Regions from separate parts of the Homo sapiens genome. Here regions 1, 2, 3 and 5 are each linked to region 4. The links are contacts of gene promoters, found by promoter capture Hi-C in blood cells and fetal thymus (Javierre and others, 2016). All regions are on one chromosome and are shown on one strand. The core of a region is centred on a gene start or on the middle of the fragment in contact, and the rest is flanking DNA. Distances in the headings are between cores, read along the strand shown.

Region 1 (2,700 bases), core at 64-2,563, 220 kb before region 4:
GCTGGGGCACTGACTGTACAAACAGCAGCACATGACCCTCCTCCCAAAGTGCCTATGACGTTCCGCGGCCGTTCTTCAGCCTGAGCTTTCTCATGTTAAATTCCTTGGCACAGAATGTGAAATGCTATACAAATCACCTCTGATATTTATAAAAGTCAAATGCTATTATGTTTTCAATGGGGAGGTCACAGCAAACCACATGGAGTCTGCCTGTCCCTCTGATGACTCACTGTCCTGTCCTCCCCGATACCCTCCACCTTGGACAGAGGTTTGAGGTTCGTTTGGATTTTTTTTTTTTTTCATGTAAAGTTTAGGTAGATTAAGTTATTTGTCATCATCTGGCCCCCTCCCAGCTCCTCTGGGACCAGCCACTGGGAGGCTGTTCTTGAGAGCAGGAACTAGAACAGTTGCCAGTTTTCCTATCATTACAGGACTCCTTGGTGCCCAGCACTGTCCCTCGTGCCAAGCTCAGGGCAGGAGGGGGCAAGGCCAGCAGCTATCCTGAGGGAAGGAGCGTTGCTGCTCACCCTTTTAAATCCTCTGCCTTCTGCACTCCAGCCTGGGCGACAGAGCGAGACTCTGTCTCAAAAATAATAATTAAAATAAAATAAATCCTCTGTCTTGCCTGCTACTCCCACCCCACCCCCTGCCCCCACCATGATCACCCACTACAGAAAATTCTCCAAACAAGGACTTCATTTTCTACTCTGAAGTTCAGAGCCAGGGACTGTCTCTGAAGCTTCCTCCAAATATTATTAACATATCAGGAGAGAGGGGCCAGTGCAAGCAGGCAGCCAACACCAAGGTTGGAGAGACAGTTCTGCACCTCCAAAGGGGGAGGCCACACAGTGCAAAGAGAGAGAGAGAGACAAAGAGAGAGAAACAGAGAGTGGGGGGAAGACAGAGTATATGCCTCCTAGACTCCTTCACACTGAAACGAAGAGGACCCTTTGGGTGGGGTTCCCTCCAATGCCCACTCCCTGCTAGAAGGGAAGGGCAGAGTCCACAGCATGGACCCTCAGCCGCCAGAGGTATGCCGTTTCTGGACTGCAAGACTCTTGCAGCCGACAACACAGTGGATGAGAACCAGCATCTCAACATTTGCATCTGGTTGAGTGGCTTCCCCTGTGACGCAGTAATGTGGAAACTAAGCAACCTTTTCTAGGCCAGTAAAAGAAAGTACTTATTTTGTAGTCACAGTGGAGAGAACCTTGGGCTGAACTCGTGGGCCCTAATTCTAGTTTGGATTGTGTGTTCTTAACTGACCCCCTTTTTCAAATAGGGGCTTTGATCCATTGATCCGCACATGAGAGCTGATGCCCAGGCCCCCACAGGGAGGGAAGACAATGCTAAAATGTGGGCTCTGGGGTACAGAAGCCCAAGGCACACATTCAAGTCCTGCCCCAGATTGGTCTTCCTTAACCTTTCTGGGACTCAGTTTTCTCTGGCAAAGATTAGGGAGGAAAAAAGGTCTATATTTTTGGACTATAGTGAAGACTTAATAAAAATAATAACTCAAAAGTATCCAAAAGAGTACAGCTATTGAATTATCTGTACCTAAGGCAAGTTCAACCTACATGCTCATTTCCTTCATAACACCGTAACCTTCAGGAAGGCAGGGCCCAATTTCTGTTCACTATTATGTATTAAGTCCACAAAGCACCTAGCATACAGTAGGTACTTAAAAACTCAGAGAATGAGGAAATGAAGGAACTACAGGATAAGCCAGCTACACAGGCTACTCTCACAGCAAACTTGAGTCACTAACCTGGCAGACCTTGCAGGGCAGGTTGAGGGCTGGAGGAGAGAGCTGAATTCCTCCAGGGTAAGTCTAGGGTCTAGTTCAACCTAGTACCCTGGGCCTGCAGAGGGTGCCCTTAAGCTTCCCAGCCTCAGAACTTCTAAACCTAGGAATGACCTTGCCTCTTTTTTCTTACTGGCGAAAAGGTAGGATGAGGTGGAAGGTTCTATTTGAAGAAGTCAAGAGATAGGGAATACCCAGGTTCCTGGTGATAGCAGACATGGTTCAGGACCCTACCAGGAACCCAAAATTCCTGAGCCTTTGAGGGCACCAGTCACTGAAGCCTCCTCTTAAGACGTGGAAGGGCACAGGCCTGGTGCTCCTGGAGGCTGGTACACCTGCTTAGTCTCGATTCCAGTTTTGCGGCCTGTCTGGCCTGGGTTTACACATCACCTGTTTAGACACCAACAGGGAATGGTTCCTTTGGGAAGCTTTGGGCATTCCAGACCTCAGGGCCTTAAGATCTACCAAATCTGCTCCCTGAGATTGCTCAAAGTGTGGAGCTTCAATCTGCCCTCACTTCTTTCAACTGCACTGAGAGGGCCCCAGTGGCTGTTAACTCAGTGGGCACATTGCAAATGTCCTCTTGGCCGGAGGACATAGTCAGGGATCCTGGAAGACCTCACCATGGCCTTGCAAAGCAGGTGTATACTGTTCCTATTCCTCCAACACCATCCTCACTGACTTGGCCCCGTCAACCTATCCAGTGGGGGAAATCCATGTTCTCAGAAGCCTCTGAGGAAGACCAGGATGATGCGATGAGAGAAACTGGCACCTCCATTTCCTGAGCACTTACTCCATGCGAGGCCTATATTGAGATTATCCAATCTGTGATGGGGCTGGAATTGGAATCTAGATAGTCTGACACCAGATCCCAAGTTCTGGGTCACTGTGCACCA
Region 2 (2,765 bases), core at 51-2,550, 160 kb after region 4:
CAGTTATCCTTTCTTTCCCAAAGTTCCATGATTCTTCAAGATCTTTAATTTAACAACATGCGTTCAAGCTTTATTTCTGTAATAATAAATTCCAAAAGAGAGTTAGGACAGAAATTCTTAACTATCCACAGAAGTGTTTGTTAGAATAAATTCTGGGAATGGAGGGGTAAAGAGCCTCCAGGAGTGTCTCTGAACCTATTCTGGTTAGGGGCATGGACTTTCAGTGGCTTCTGTATGAATGACTGGAATGGGCAGAATGGCTTGGAGGAGGGGAGCCCTGTTTCTAGAATGGCATTGAGGCACAGTCCCATTGCTTAACAGGAATGCACCATGTAAAACGCAGGCTTCCCCATTTTTTCTTTTGTGTTAATTCAAAAATCTTCACCAGTAATTAAAATAGGTCAAAGTAAGTGTAAATTTAATTTGATTCTGTGACTGACTTTCATCTCTTTTACTAGTATTTAGTTAGCATTTAAGCATTGCTCTATTTTCTCTATATTGAAAATACACAAATGTGCTTTTCAAATGTTGTAACAAACAAGTATGTCATTAAAAGGGTCTTCACTCCAGATAGATAAGTGGTCACTTAACTCTAAGAAGCATGTGGCTGAATTAAATATGTTAACTTAAATTTTGTTGCCAAATAAAATAGGCATGGAACAAAATAGCTGCTAACCTTTGTAGGTCCCAAATATGCTAAGCATTTTCAGCATGAGTGGTCAAGGTGATTCTATTTTTAGATAAACAGAGTTTTGAATTAGAAGGATGCATATGTTTAGGTTATGTTTGGTTTTAGATCTGAGGAGTTTAGAGTTGAAAGAGTCTTCAGAGAGGTCATGTAGTTCAGCGATCTGGTTTTCAAGGTTTTGGAACTGAGACATAATTGATCAATTCCAAGGCTGTGTTTTTGTGGACTTCATCTTGAATCAACAAGATGTTTTAATATGAACCCCACATTAATCACATCATAAACAGTAATTTCTTAATAACCTAAACTTTATCAGATTACTTTGCTTCACCTGACTGGGGAATGTACATTCTGACTTACAGGTGCCTTATCGCTTGCATGCAGTTCTTGTTCATGAAGGACAAGCAAATGCTGGACACTATTGGGCCTATATCTATAATCAACCCCGACAGAGCTGGCTCAAGTACAATGACATCTCTGTTACTGAATCTTCCTGGGAAGAAGTTGAAAGAGATTCCTATGGAGGCCTGAGAAATGTTAGTGCTTACTGTCTGATGTACATTAATGACAAACTACCCTACTTCAATGCAGGTAAAAGTATCTTGGCAGAATCTATAGATTGGGGAAAATCTGTACTGCTCAGGGAGAAGAACAGTCTTGTACTGCTTTTTAAAAAATTTACAACTTACTATTATATAATAATAGATTTAAAAAATATAGACAGTATAAAAGGAAATGAAAAGGAAAAACAAGTTTGCTTTACTACTTTCTTCCTTGACCATGGGTCCCACTCCCAACAAGTACACAATGTTAGGTTTCTTATGTAGTCTTCAAGACACATTGTATACATATGCTAGATTCTATTTATCTGTATCTTCCCCTCCCCCTTTTCCCCAAGTAGATTATTTTTCCATTCAACTCTGAACCTTTTTCATTAATCGAGTATTTAGCAATCTCTATATTTTTAGTAAAAGAATCTTAACTGTTTAACAACTATATAGTAATTCATTGTGTGGAATATACGTATTTTTAAAATTTACTCGTAGATAGACTAATTCTCTAGTTGTTGTTGTTTTTAGTGACATCTTTTTTTTTTCTTGCCCCATCTTATGGTGCTGATAGTACATATATTTTTGCACCCTTTGGAGAATAACTAAATTTTTTCTTTCTTTTTTTTTTGAGACATAGTCTTGCTTTGTCGCCCAGGCTGGAGTGCAGTGGCGCAATCTCAGCTCACTGCAACCTCCGCCTGCCAGGTTGAAGTGATTCTCCTGCCTCACTCTCGCAAGCAGCTGGAATTACAGGTGCCCACCACCATGCCCAGCTGATTTTTGTATTTTTAGTAGAAACGGTGTTTCACCATCTTGGCCAGGGTGTTTTTGAACTCCTCACCTCAGGTGATCTGCCTGCTTCGGCCTCTCAAAGTGCTGGGATTACAGTTGTGGGGCCCAGAATAACTAAATTTTACAGGTGTATTTGCCTGAATAGTTTCACAGTTGTTGTAATACTACTACTCATACAGAGAGCAATAATAATTATCATTTATATTGGTACTTTACTTCTTAAAGCATGCTTTCAAACTTTTATTTCTCTAAGAACTTACAGCTGTGAAAAGGAGGGAAAGAGTTTGAAAATGTTGTCATCTTCATTTTCCAGCTGGATAACAGATTCCAAAGGGTTCTAAAGTTGAGTAATCACATAGTCAATAAATGGCAGTCCCAAGATTCAAATACAATTCTCCAAATTCTGTGGTGTTTTCAATTTACATTATTCTCTCTTTCTTTCACATCCTCTATGAGAGGTCTTATGATGAACATTTTATAAGTAAGATAGTAGAAAGCTTTTGCCTGTAGTATTCAAACTTTACTGTGTGGCGTAAGTAAGGAAACATCGCCCCGGCATGGTGGTTCACGCCTGTAATCCCAGCACTTTGGGAGGCCAAGGCGGGCGGATCACTTGAGGCCAGGAGTTGAAGACCAACCTGGCCAACATGGTAAAACCCTGTGTCTACTAAAAATACATAAATTAGCTGGGCATGGTGGCACACACCTGTAATCCCACCTACTTGGGAGGCTGA
Region 3 (2,700 bases), core at 32-2,531, 240 kb before region 4:
AGCTGCTCCCTAGATGTTCCGCAGACATCTTATATTCAACCTGAATATCCAAACCTGAAACCCACATCTTCGCCTCTCAAACCTGCTTGGCCTGGATCTCCATCTCAGCTGTCAGCACTAACATCCTCTTGGTCACTCGAGCTAGATGCCTGGACGTCACCCCGAAGGCCTCTAGGTCCTCTTGCCTGACATTAGGATTGAGATACCCCAATCCAGCTCATTTTCTATCATGTAAGCATCCCTCATCAGGATAGCCACAAAAGTCTCCTAAACACAGCTTACCTCCCTCTGATCTCACCTGCACAGAACCACCAGTGCGACCTATCCAAAATGTATCTGATCTCATAACTTCCTTTTTAAAGGCTTCCAAGAACTCCTTGTCATCTGTGGATAAAATCTAGGCTCCTAAACACAGCCTAACAAGTTTCTGTGGCCTGGGCTTGCCTATGCCTCCAACTGTATCCACCACGTTCTATCTCAGCTGAGCTACTCAGGCCACAGTGTCACTGTTTCTAAACACATACAGTTCCATTTCTTCTGTCCTTCTCTCCCTTCATCCTGGCTACTTTCTACTTCTTGAAAACCTTGTGGTGTCTTCCTTTCTAGAAGCCTTATCTGTCCCCTGGGTATCTGCTGAGCACCCTTCCTCTGGGCTACCACAGTATCCTGTGTATAATAAATATCTCTATCGCTGCACTCAGCATTCTGCATTATAATTGCCTGTTTATGTGTCTGTCTTCCTCTCAACTCTGAATTCCTTGAATCAAGAGACTGGGTCTAGTCATCTTTCTATTCCCAGCATTTAAGCACATAGTAGATATGCAATAAATGTTGAATGAATGAGTGGCAAGCCGTCTTGGTTCTTCTGAAAATGATAGGGAATAGGGGATCTTTTAGTGTCATGCCAACTCAGTGAGAATAGGGGGTAAGGGGAGGTGACTTCTTATTTCCCTCCATCTCCAGTCTCCTGTAAGTCAAGAGAAATGTGTATATGCTGCAGGCTGCCTCCGGTGTGATGAGTTTAGGCTGATAGCACTGTCTTGCCAGAATGTTCCTCTGGGCCCCAAAGCAGCTGGGTGTACATTCCCCCACAAAAGGTTACCAGTGTCCAAAGGCTGGGCTTGTGCAGCAGCCCCTCCCCCTGTCCTTGTCACCCAGCCTCCTTCTGACCAAAGATAAGGGCTGGGTCAGAGCCCTGTTGACTGGAACAGCAATTTATCAGCCTAGTAAGGGTGGGACAAGGCAGAAGATGGCCCACCAGCCAGTCTGAGCACAAGGCCAGCAGAGGTAAGACTCAGATCATGAAGGACAAATGTGCCAGTCCACCCCCCAGCTCTGCTAGGAAGTAATCAGCACCCAGAACAGGGACACTTCTGCATTTGTCCCCACCCATCCAATAGACCAAAGCTGCAGCCTTTACAGGTGCCTGTGTGTGCAAGGGAAAGGGTGCACTGGGAAGAGAGGATAGGAGAGCTCGTATATGTCCTCTTCACAGCTCAACAGCCCCATGGAAAGGTTCGCTCAGAGCTGTAGGGCCTGTTCTCACTCAAGATAAGCGGGAGAGGTGGTAACAAATGGAAACCACAGCCTTATCTTGGCCTTCCTTCATCAACGCTCCCACACCCCTACCCTGTCTGCTCTGTTCAAGAGCTTCCCTCCTCCAAAAGCCCTTCCATTTCTAGGCTGTCTCCCTGAGTGCTGTACTGGCCTGTGAGTCCAGGCTCCTGCCCCTGACTATTGCAGATGGGAACAGCCAACCTTTCTCAAATAGCCATCAGAGAATGCCTGAATTTTGTACCCAACATCTACCTGTAAGATCTGTAATCACAAAATAATTCAAATTAAACTTTCAAAACATAAAAAAAGACAAAAGCTATAAAAAGATAAGGGCATCTATATATGTGCCCACTCACAACTGAAGCAGCTCCAGAGATGGACAGTTATCAGTCTCTCTTAGGAACATCTTTGCAACTCAGGAAGTTCTCACCAATGTCTAACCTAATGCGGCTGCTGCGGCTGTAAAGCTCTTTACCTCTCGTTGTAGGGTAAAGACAAAAGGAGTCTTTCTCTTAATTTCTCTTTTCTTGCTAGCACACCAGGCAACTTCTAGGTAGAAGCAATATGCTGCACCAGAGAGACATCTGAATGAGCTGCCATATCTTTCCCTTCCCCTTTTTGGAAAGAGCCAATGAGATGTGAGGTCTTGGTCATCCTGGACTGGCAGGGAAGGTAACCCATCTCAATCCTCCAGAATGAAGAACCCGAGCCTGATCCTCAATGAGAAGAGGGAGCAGAGAAGGGAACAAGTGAATCCCTGGGCCACTCAAGAGAAGCAAGAAGGCCAACTTCTAAAACAAGTTATTTTACGGCAGGCAGCCAGTGTAGGTCCAGACTGAGTTATGTGTCCTTTGTGTTGAACAACTACTAGTTATCAGGTAAGTCATAAAGGAACATTCGTAAAATTAGATTCACCACTTGTTTTTATAGCACTCATTAAGGGACATAAAAGACAATTCTTTTCAGCGTTTTGGTGCTGAATTATAAATTCAATTAACTGGACACAGTTAACCTCATAGATCCAGAAATCTTTATATTAAAGAAGCAACTTCCACCTATAAGCAGGAAAAAAAAAAAAAAGATAAGCTCCTCTCTCTGGCTTCCAAATCCCTCCACCCCAATTGAGCAGACTTTCTGCCATCA
Region 4 (2,700 bases), core at 177-2,676:
AAACATATTCTTCATTTAACTTTAGAACAGTCCACCAGAGTGGCTATTTGCACACAAGGATCCCCAAGCACCAGAAAGGTGAGCACCTTGCTCTGCAAGTGGAGGAACTGAGATTCAAACGCAGACCCGTGTGCGTCTTTACTACACCAGCAAGAGCCTGGGTCCTATTGACTGGGATCCTGACCAGCTTGGAGAGCACTGAACTCATCCCAGCAGGCCCGGGGCAAAGGACCATTGCTAGGAGGGACAGAGTTTCTTCTCAGTCAAGGAAGCCCTCGACCACAGTCATCACTTACAGCTTGCGTTTGCTTAACCCACGGAGCACTCCCAAACGACCGCTCCCGGGAGGAAGGACATCTTACCCAGAGCTCTTCACGTCTGTCCAACCCCTGGATGGCTTCCTCTAATTGTGCCCCAGTATGCTCCACCCCAGCTCTGTAGGGAGAGAAACCTCCTAGAGGGGAATGAACATGGTCTGCAGCAAAAGGAAGCCGGTCCCTTTGTGGCTAAAACACCCTACATTCAAGGGAGTCAGGAGAAGATGGGTGTAGCGAATGTGGAGAGAAATTGGGCGTTACTGGAGTTTAGTCCTGGAAAGGAACTTGGGGAACCGCAGGCCCAGAGAACGAACTCATGCAACAAAACCAGTGAAGCTGAGGAAAGAGGACTAGACTAGTTCTGGTCCCCACTCTGCTGCTAACAAGCTGTGTGACCTTGAATGAATTATCCGCTCCCCACTCTCTGGGCCACAGCATTCCCATTTATAACAGGCAAGGGTGGACCCAATGAGTTCTAAGGTCCCTTGCAGCTTTCATTCAAATAGTTTAGGGAAAGGACAAAAAGGAGAGGAGCCCCCTCCTGGTGCCTGTCTTTTTATTTCTGATACGCCAGGCTACTTCTCTGCTCCCTTCTTTGCAAGCTCCGCTCTTGCCCCACCCCAGGACTCAACATTCCTAACTCTCTCTAGCTTAACCATGATGCCTCAAATGCTGTCATGCTCATAGGTGGTAAGATAGCTGACCTTCCTGCAGCTGCACTGTTCCCCACCCTCCTCTCCACAGCCCTCGGAGGACTGAAGCATCCCCTGCCCCACCTCAGCAGATGGTCAGCCAAGTCCTGCTGCTTCCCGAAGTCTGCTTACCTTCTCCCTGTGCCAGGAGTGTGGGGAGGAGCAAGGCGAGCAGCGCCTGCTGGACCCACAGCAGCATAGCGAGCTTTCCAAGCATAGGAGTGCCTCCGAGTGCTCAGGACGAGGCCCACCAAGGGCCAGCTTGCCTGCCCTCTGCCAACCTCATGTCCCAGCCAGCCTGCCTCTCGTGGCCACTGCTCACACCTTCTGAGGCTGCAGCCTCACACTCCCTGGGCCACCAAGGTTGGGGAGCTGCCAAGTTTTCCTGCAATCAGTCCTTCAGCTGGATCATGTTTCAGGCGGGAGGAAAGGGGAGGGGACAGCTGAGAGGGGAGCCCGCCCTAGCTGATGTCATGCTGTGGGAGCTCAGTCCACCCATTCAGCCAGGGGGCTTGGCCATGTTTCCCCAAGGAGTAACTTAGGTGGGGACAGGGGCTGCAGAAGCCCATGAGACAAGGGTGCAGCCTGACCCCTGGGAGGTGCACCACGCTGCTGCTTTCATTGATGTCCCTTGGCAAGTATGTTTCTGTGGCACTGGGCTGGGGCAGGATAGGGTGAGTCAGGCAGGAGCAGGAAGACCATTCTTTTACTCCCCAGGGTGACATAACCAAGCAGGTGACTGGGCACCTCTGTAGTTACGGGAAGGGTAACTGGAGTCACCACAGGTCTGCCCTTTTGTCCTCATCTAATTAGTTATACTTAAATAGTAAAATATATATTAAAAATAATAAAATATATAATAAAAATAAACTTTTACTATACATATTTATTTCATGCATTCTTGCCATACATAATAAATACATATAGTAAAAATAATAATAATACATGCACTTTGTAGAAAAATATGAAGAAAAATTAAAATCATCTGTAAACTTATGACTCAGAGACAGCCACTCTTAACGTTTTGGTATATATTCTTCCATAATTTTCTTCAGTAATGTGTATACAATGAAGTAAATATCACATACATATAATTTTGTGCCCTCTTTTTTTGCTTGATATCATTTCGTAAGCATTTCTTTTCTTTTCTTTCTTTCTTTTTTTTTTTTTTTTTGAGACAGAGTCTCGCTCTGTCACCCAGGCTAGAGTGCAGTGGCGCAATCACTGCTCACTGCAGCCCCAACCTCCCCCATCTCAGCTGATCCTCCCATCTCAGCCTCTTGAAGAGCTGGGACTACAAATGCGAGCCATGCCTGGCTAATTTTTGTATTTTTGGTAGTCCCCCAAAGGGACTAGAGGCATGAGCAATCACACCTGGCCTCGGAAGCATTTTCAATACCTTCCTCTTAAATGGAAGCGTCTTTCTTGAAAGAAGTGTTTCTTTCTTCATTGCAAGTTAAATAGACAAGTATCTATCCCTCAGGCCTCAGCTGTGTACCCCTAAAGTTGCCTGCAAGAAGAATTACTGTGCATTTTTATTTGAAGGAGTCCTACCCTAGCTCACCATTTGGGTAGATGTCCCCGTACCAATCAAGTTAAGTATCAACAACAAAACATTTTCTTCCTTTTTAATTTATTTTCCACTTGACTCTAAGTGTGGAATAGGCTAGGAACCCTGCAGTAAGGAGGAA
Region 5 (2,700 bases), core at 29-2,528, 200 kb before region 4:
CATGTCTAGCTACCACCCTGAAGAAGTGAATTATCTCTTCTGGGCCTGTTTCTTACCTAGAAAACTGGGCTCAGAGTGTTTATGCCACAGGGTTGGTTGAGGGATGATTAATTTAAATAATATATGTAAAGTGTTTAATACCCTGTCTGGCATACAATAATAGCCCAATAAATGCTAGTTGTCATTAAGACCAACATCATCATTGTCATCAGGAGATAAAATAATAGCAAGGTATAAGACACACACAAACATCAAATGCATGCAAGAGATATATCACGCAATTTAAAATATTCTTACCTCTCCAGCCAAAACACACCAGTAAAGATGGGGTCAGATCATTCTTCCCCAGGAGGAGATCAAGGAAATGACACCCCTACCGTCTGCTCCCATCATCACTCATGGCCAATGTTTAATGGTATTATTACCCTCCTACTGCCTACCCAGAAGGGAACCAGGGAATGCAAACCAGTTTGAGATGATTTATGTTTTTAAAAATACATGAGTGAATTATTTTAAATAAAATGCAAGTAGGATAGTAAATTTGTTGCAGATTTTTTAAAAATACAGGCCAGGTGCAATAGCTTGTGCCTGTAACCCCAGCCTGGGTGACGGAGTGATACTCTGTCTCCAAAAAAAATTACAAATATTCCTGAAGTCTAAGAGTAGTGACTCAGGGGTTCACCTTACCATTGCTTCTAATCTCTTTCTTCTCCTGGCAACTTCTATGACTGAGCAATCATGGTATTGTGGTAGTCAGCACAAGGGCACAAAATCTCTCTTACTACAGGAATGTCAGTCCCTGCTGTGATGAACCAGACTTCCTTCCAGACATGCTTTGCCAACTGAGAGATCTCTCGGAGGTTAACGGTCAGGCCCCCTCAAAATGAAGTCCCGGGCCGGGTGCGGTGGCTCATGCCTGTAATTACCCAGCACTTTGGCAGGCCGAGGCGGGCGGATCACCTGAGGTCTGGAGTTGGAGACCAGCCTGACCAACATGAAGAAGCCCCATCTCTACTAAAAATACAAAATTAGCCGGGCATGGTGGCACATGCCTGTAATCCCAGCTACTCGGGAGCCTGGGGCAGGAGAATCGCTAGAACCCCGGAGGCAGAGGTTGTGGTGAGCCGAGATCGCACCACTGCACTCCAGCCTGGCAACAGCAACAGCTCAAATCCAGAGACGGCTTTAAGGTTCTACCGGTACGGTACCAGCATCAACTTCGCAGCCTCACTTCCCTCCTGAAAATGTAGCTATTCATCCTCATATGATAGCTTAAACAAGAAACTATATGAAGTACCTGGCACATAGCAGGTGCTCAAGTCACAGTCATTATCATGATTATAGAATAATTTCACTTCATCAAGCTGATGAGCTCCAGGAGGACAGCTCCTGGCCACAGCCTACAGGGTATGCAGCCCATAGTATTTCCAGTCCCACAGCTCTGGGAGAAGCCCAATCGCAATAAGTAAATGGCCTGCATAAATGAGACACTATGTTCTCTAAGGCTCTCGTATACATGATATTATGCTATCTGGAATGGGAGACAGGACCACCCTTAGGTAAGACAGGGTAGATAACTGGCTCAAGGAGGGTTCTGCTGGCCAGCGCACCCAAGATTTTCCAAAGTACCAAAAGAAACTGACTTGCGGTCCTGACTGTCACTGCCTGAGCTGTGTAACCCTTGGTGAATCCCTTTATCTCTCCATCTTGAAATGACAAGTTTTAAACTGGGACATCTCTAAGGGAGAAAGGATGAACAGGTGTTCATGAGAAGCTGGGCGCTCATGGCAAAGAAAGTTAAACGTGGCCGTACACGAGAGCTCAAATGCATACAACCCTTGGTGTTTGGAAGGTGCTGTTGAGACCAAGCGAGGGCTGGGTTCCCCGGTTCAGCCAGCAGAATCCTTCTCAAGGTGAATATTCTGCTCTATCAGGCAGGTAGAATGGAACAGAGAGTCCAGACATTGGGAGAATCATTAGCCAGAGTCAGGCTGGGTCAGTGCGGCTGTGCCAAAGACTGACCCGAGTTCCAGGGAATACCTGGGCTTTCAAGTGTTCATAACTTTGTTTTGTTTAAGAGAGATAGATAGCTTTGCAACCTTGGCATTTGTGAGAGGCTGGATAATAAAGCCAGGGATATAAGAGTAAGGGTTTCTGCCATGATTTTATGGGACATCTCCGCAACTCCTAAACACCAACAATCACCCTCCTCCCAGGTCTCCCCTTGGGGATTCTCAGGAGAGAAGTTCAGAATGAAAAGAGAAGTTTCTGTTGGCCCCCAGCAGTCCCAAAGCTCAGCCTGTGATCTGAGCCTTCGGTCTCCTCTCATCCTCATCTATTCTGCTCCTTTCTTCTGAAGCAACTTCAGAATGCTCCGTCACAGGCCCCCACCCTAAATATGGCATGGAGGATTTCACACATACACACACACACACACACGCACGCACACACACACACACACACACACCCCTCTCCCCTGAGTAGGATTCACAATACTGGCTGGGCAATGGAAAAAAGAAGACTAAGACCCCTCCAAGGGTGGTGGCCGGGATCCAAGTGCCTACTCCACCCATTTCAAGCTGATAACCTGGCCCTGCCCCGGTCCCCCAGCATCTCCTGACACTCCTGCCAAATGACATACCTCATTGGAGGTATTTTAAAGGGAATAGGAGGCAGCATTCCTCAGTCTCGATGGCATTC

Evidence for each region. Contacts are between HindIII fragments. The CHiCAGO score rates a contact against its expected background, and 5 or more counts as called.
Region 1: a fragment that was not itself captured here is called in contact with the fragment with the promoter of HTR3A in region 4 in 2 of 17 cell types (total B cells and naive B cells); the score reaches 9.6 in total B cells.
Region 2: a contact is called between a fragment that was not itself captured here and the fragment with the promoter of HTR3A in region 4, in 1 of 17 cell types (total B cells). The highest score is 5.8, in total B cells.
Region 3: a fragment that was not itself captured here is called in contact with the fragment with the promoter of HTR3A in region 4 in 2 of 17 cell types (neutrophils and naive B cells); the score reaches 5.3 in neutrophils.
Region 5: a fragment that was not itself captured here is called in contact with the fragment with the promoter of HTR3A in region 4 in 1 of 17 cell types (total B cells); the score reaches 5.9 in total B cells.

What each region holds. Positions count from the first base shown.
Region 1 is chr11:114,195,625-114,198,324 of GRCh38, reverse strand. All of the region lies in intron 4 of ZBTB16 (zinc finger and BTB domain containing 16), which reads right to left. Among named protein-coding and RNA genes, the nearest start is that of NNMT, 99 kb to the left of the region's middle. The HindIII fragment of the contact is 1,143 bases long and covers 742-1,884 here.
Region 2 is chr11:113,810,790-113,813,554 of GRCh38, reverse strand. USP28 (ubiquitin specific peptidase 28) reads left to right here. Exons shown (of 26, transcript NM_001346252.4): 16 at 1,051-1,279. Among named protein-coding and RNA genes, the nearest start is that of CLDN25, 32 kb to the right of the region's middle. The HindIII fragment of the contact is 2,460 bases long and covers 71-2,530 here.
Region 3 is chr11:114,214,923-114,217,622 of GRCh38, reverse strand. The region is part of intron 4 of ZBTB16 (zinc finger and BTB domain containing 16); the gene reads right to left. Among named protein-coding and RNA genes, the nearest start is that of NNMT, 80 kb to the left of the region's middle. RefSeq lists an enhancer at 1,442-1,736. The HindIII fragment of the contact is 6,628 bases long and covers 1-2,700 here.
Region 4 is chr11:113,973,834-113,976,533 of GRCh38, reverse strand. HTR3A (5-hydroxytryptamine receptor 3A) reads right to left here and starts at 1,426. Exons shown (of 9, transcript NM_000869.6): 1 at 1,142-1,426. The coding sequence starts at 1,208. RefSeq lists enhancers at 542-1,201, 1,202-1,863. The HindIII fragment of the contact is 9,568 bases long and covers 1-2,700 here.
Region 5 is chr11:114,175,746-114,178,445 of GRCh38, reverse strand. All of the region lies in intron 3 of ZBTB16 (zinc finger and BTB domain containing 16), which reads right to left. Among named protein-coding and RNA genes, the nearest start is that of ZBTB16, 120 kb to the right of the region's middle. The HindIII fragment of the contact is 5,598 bases long and covers 1-2,700 here.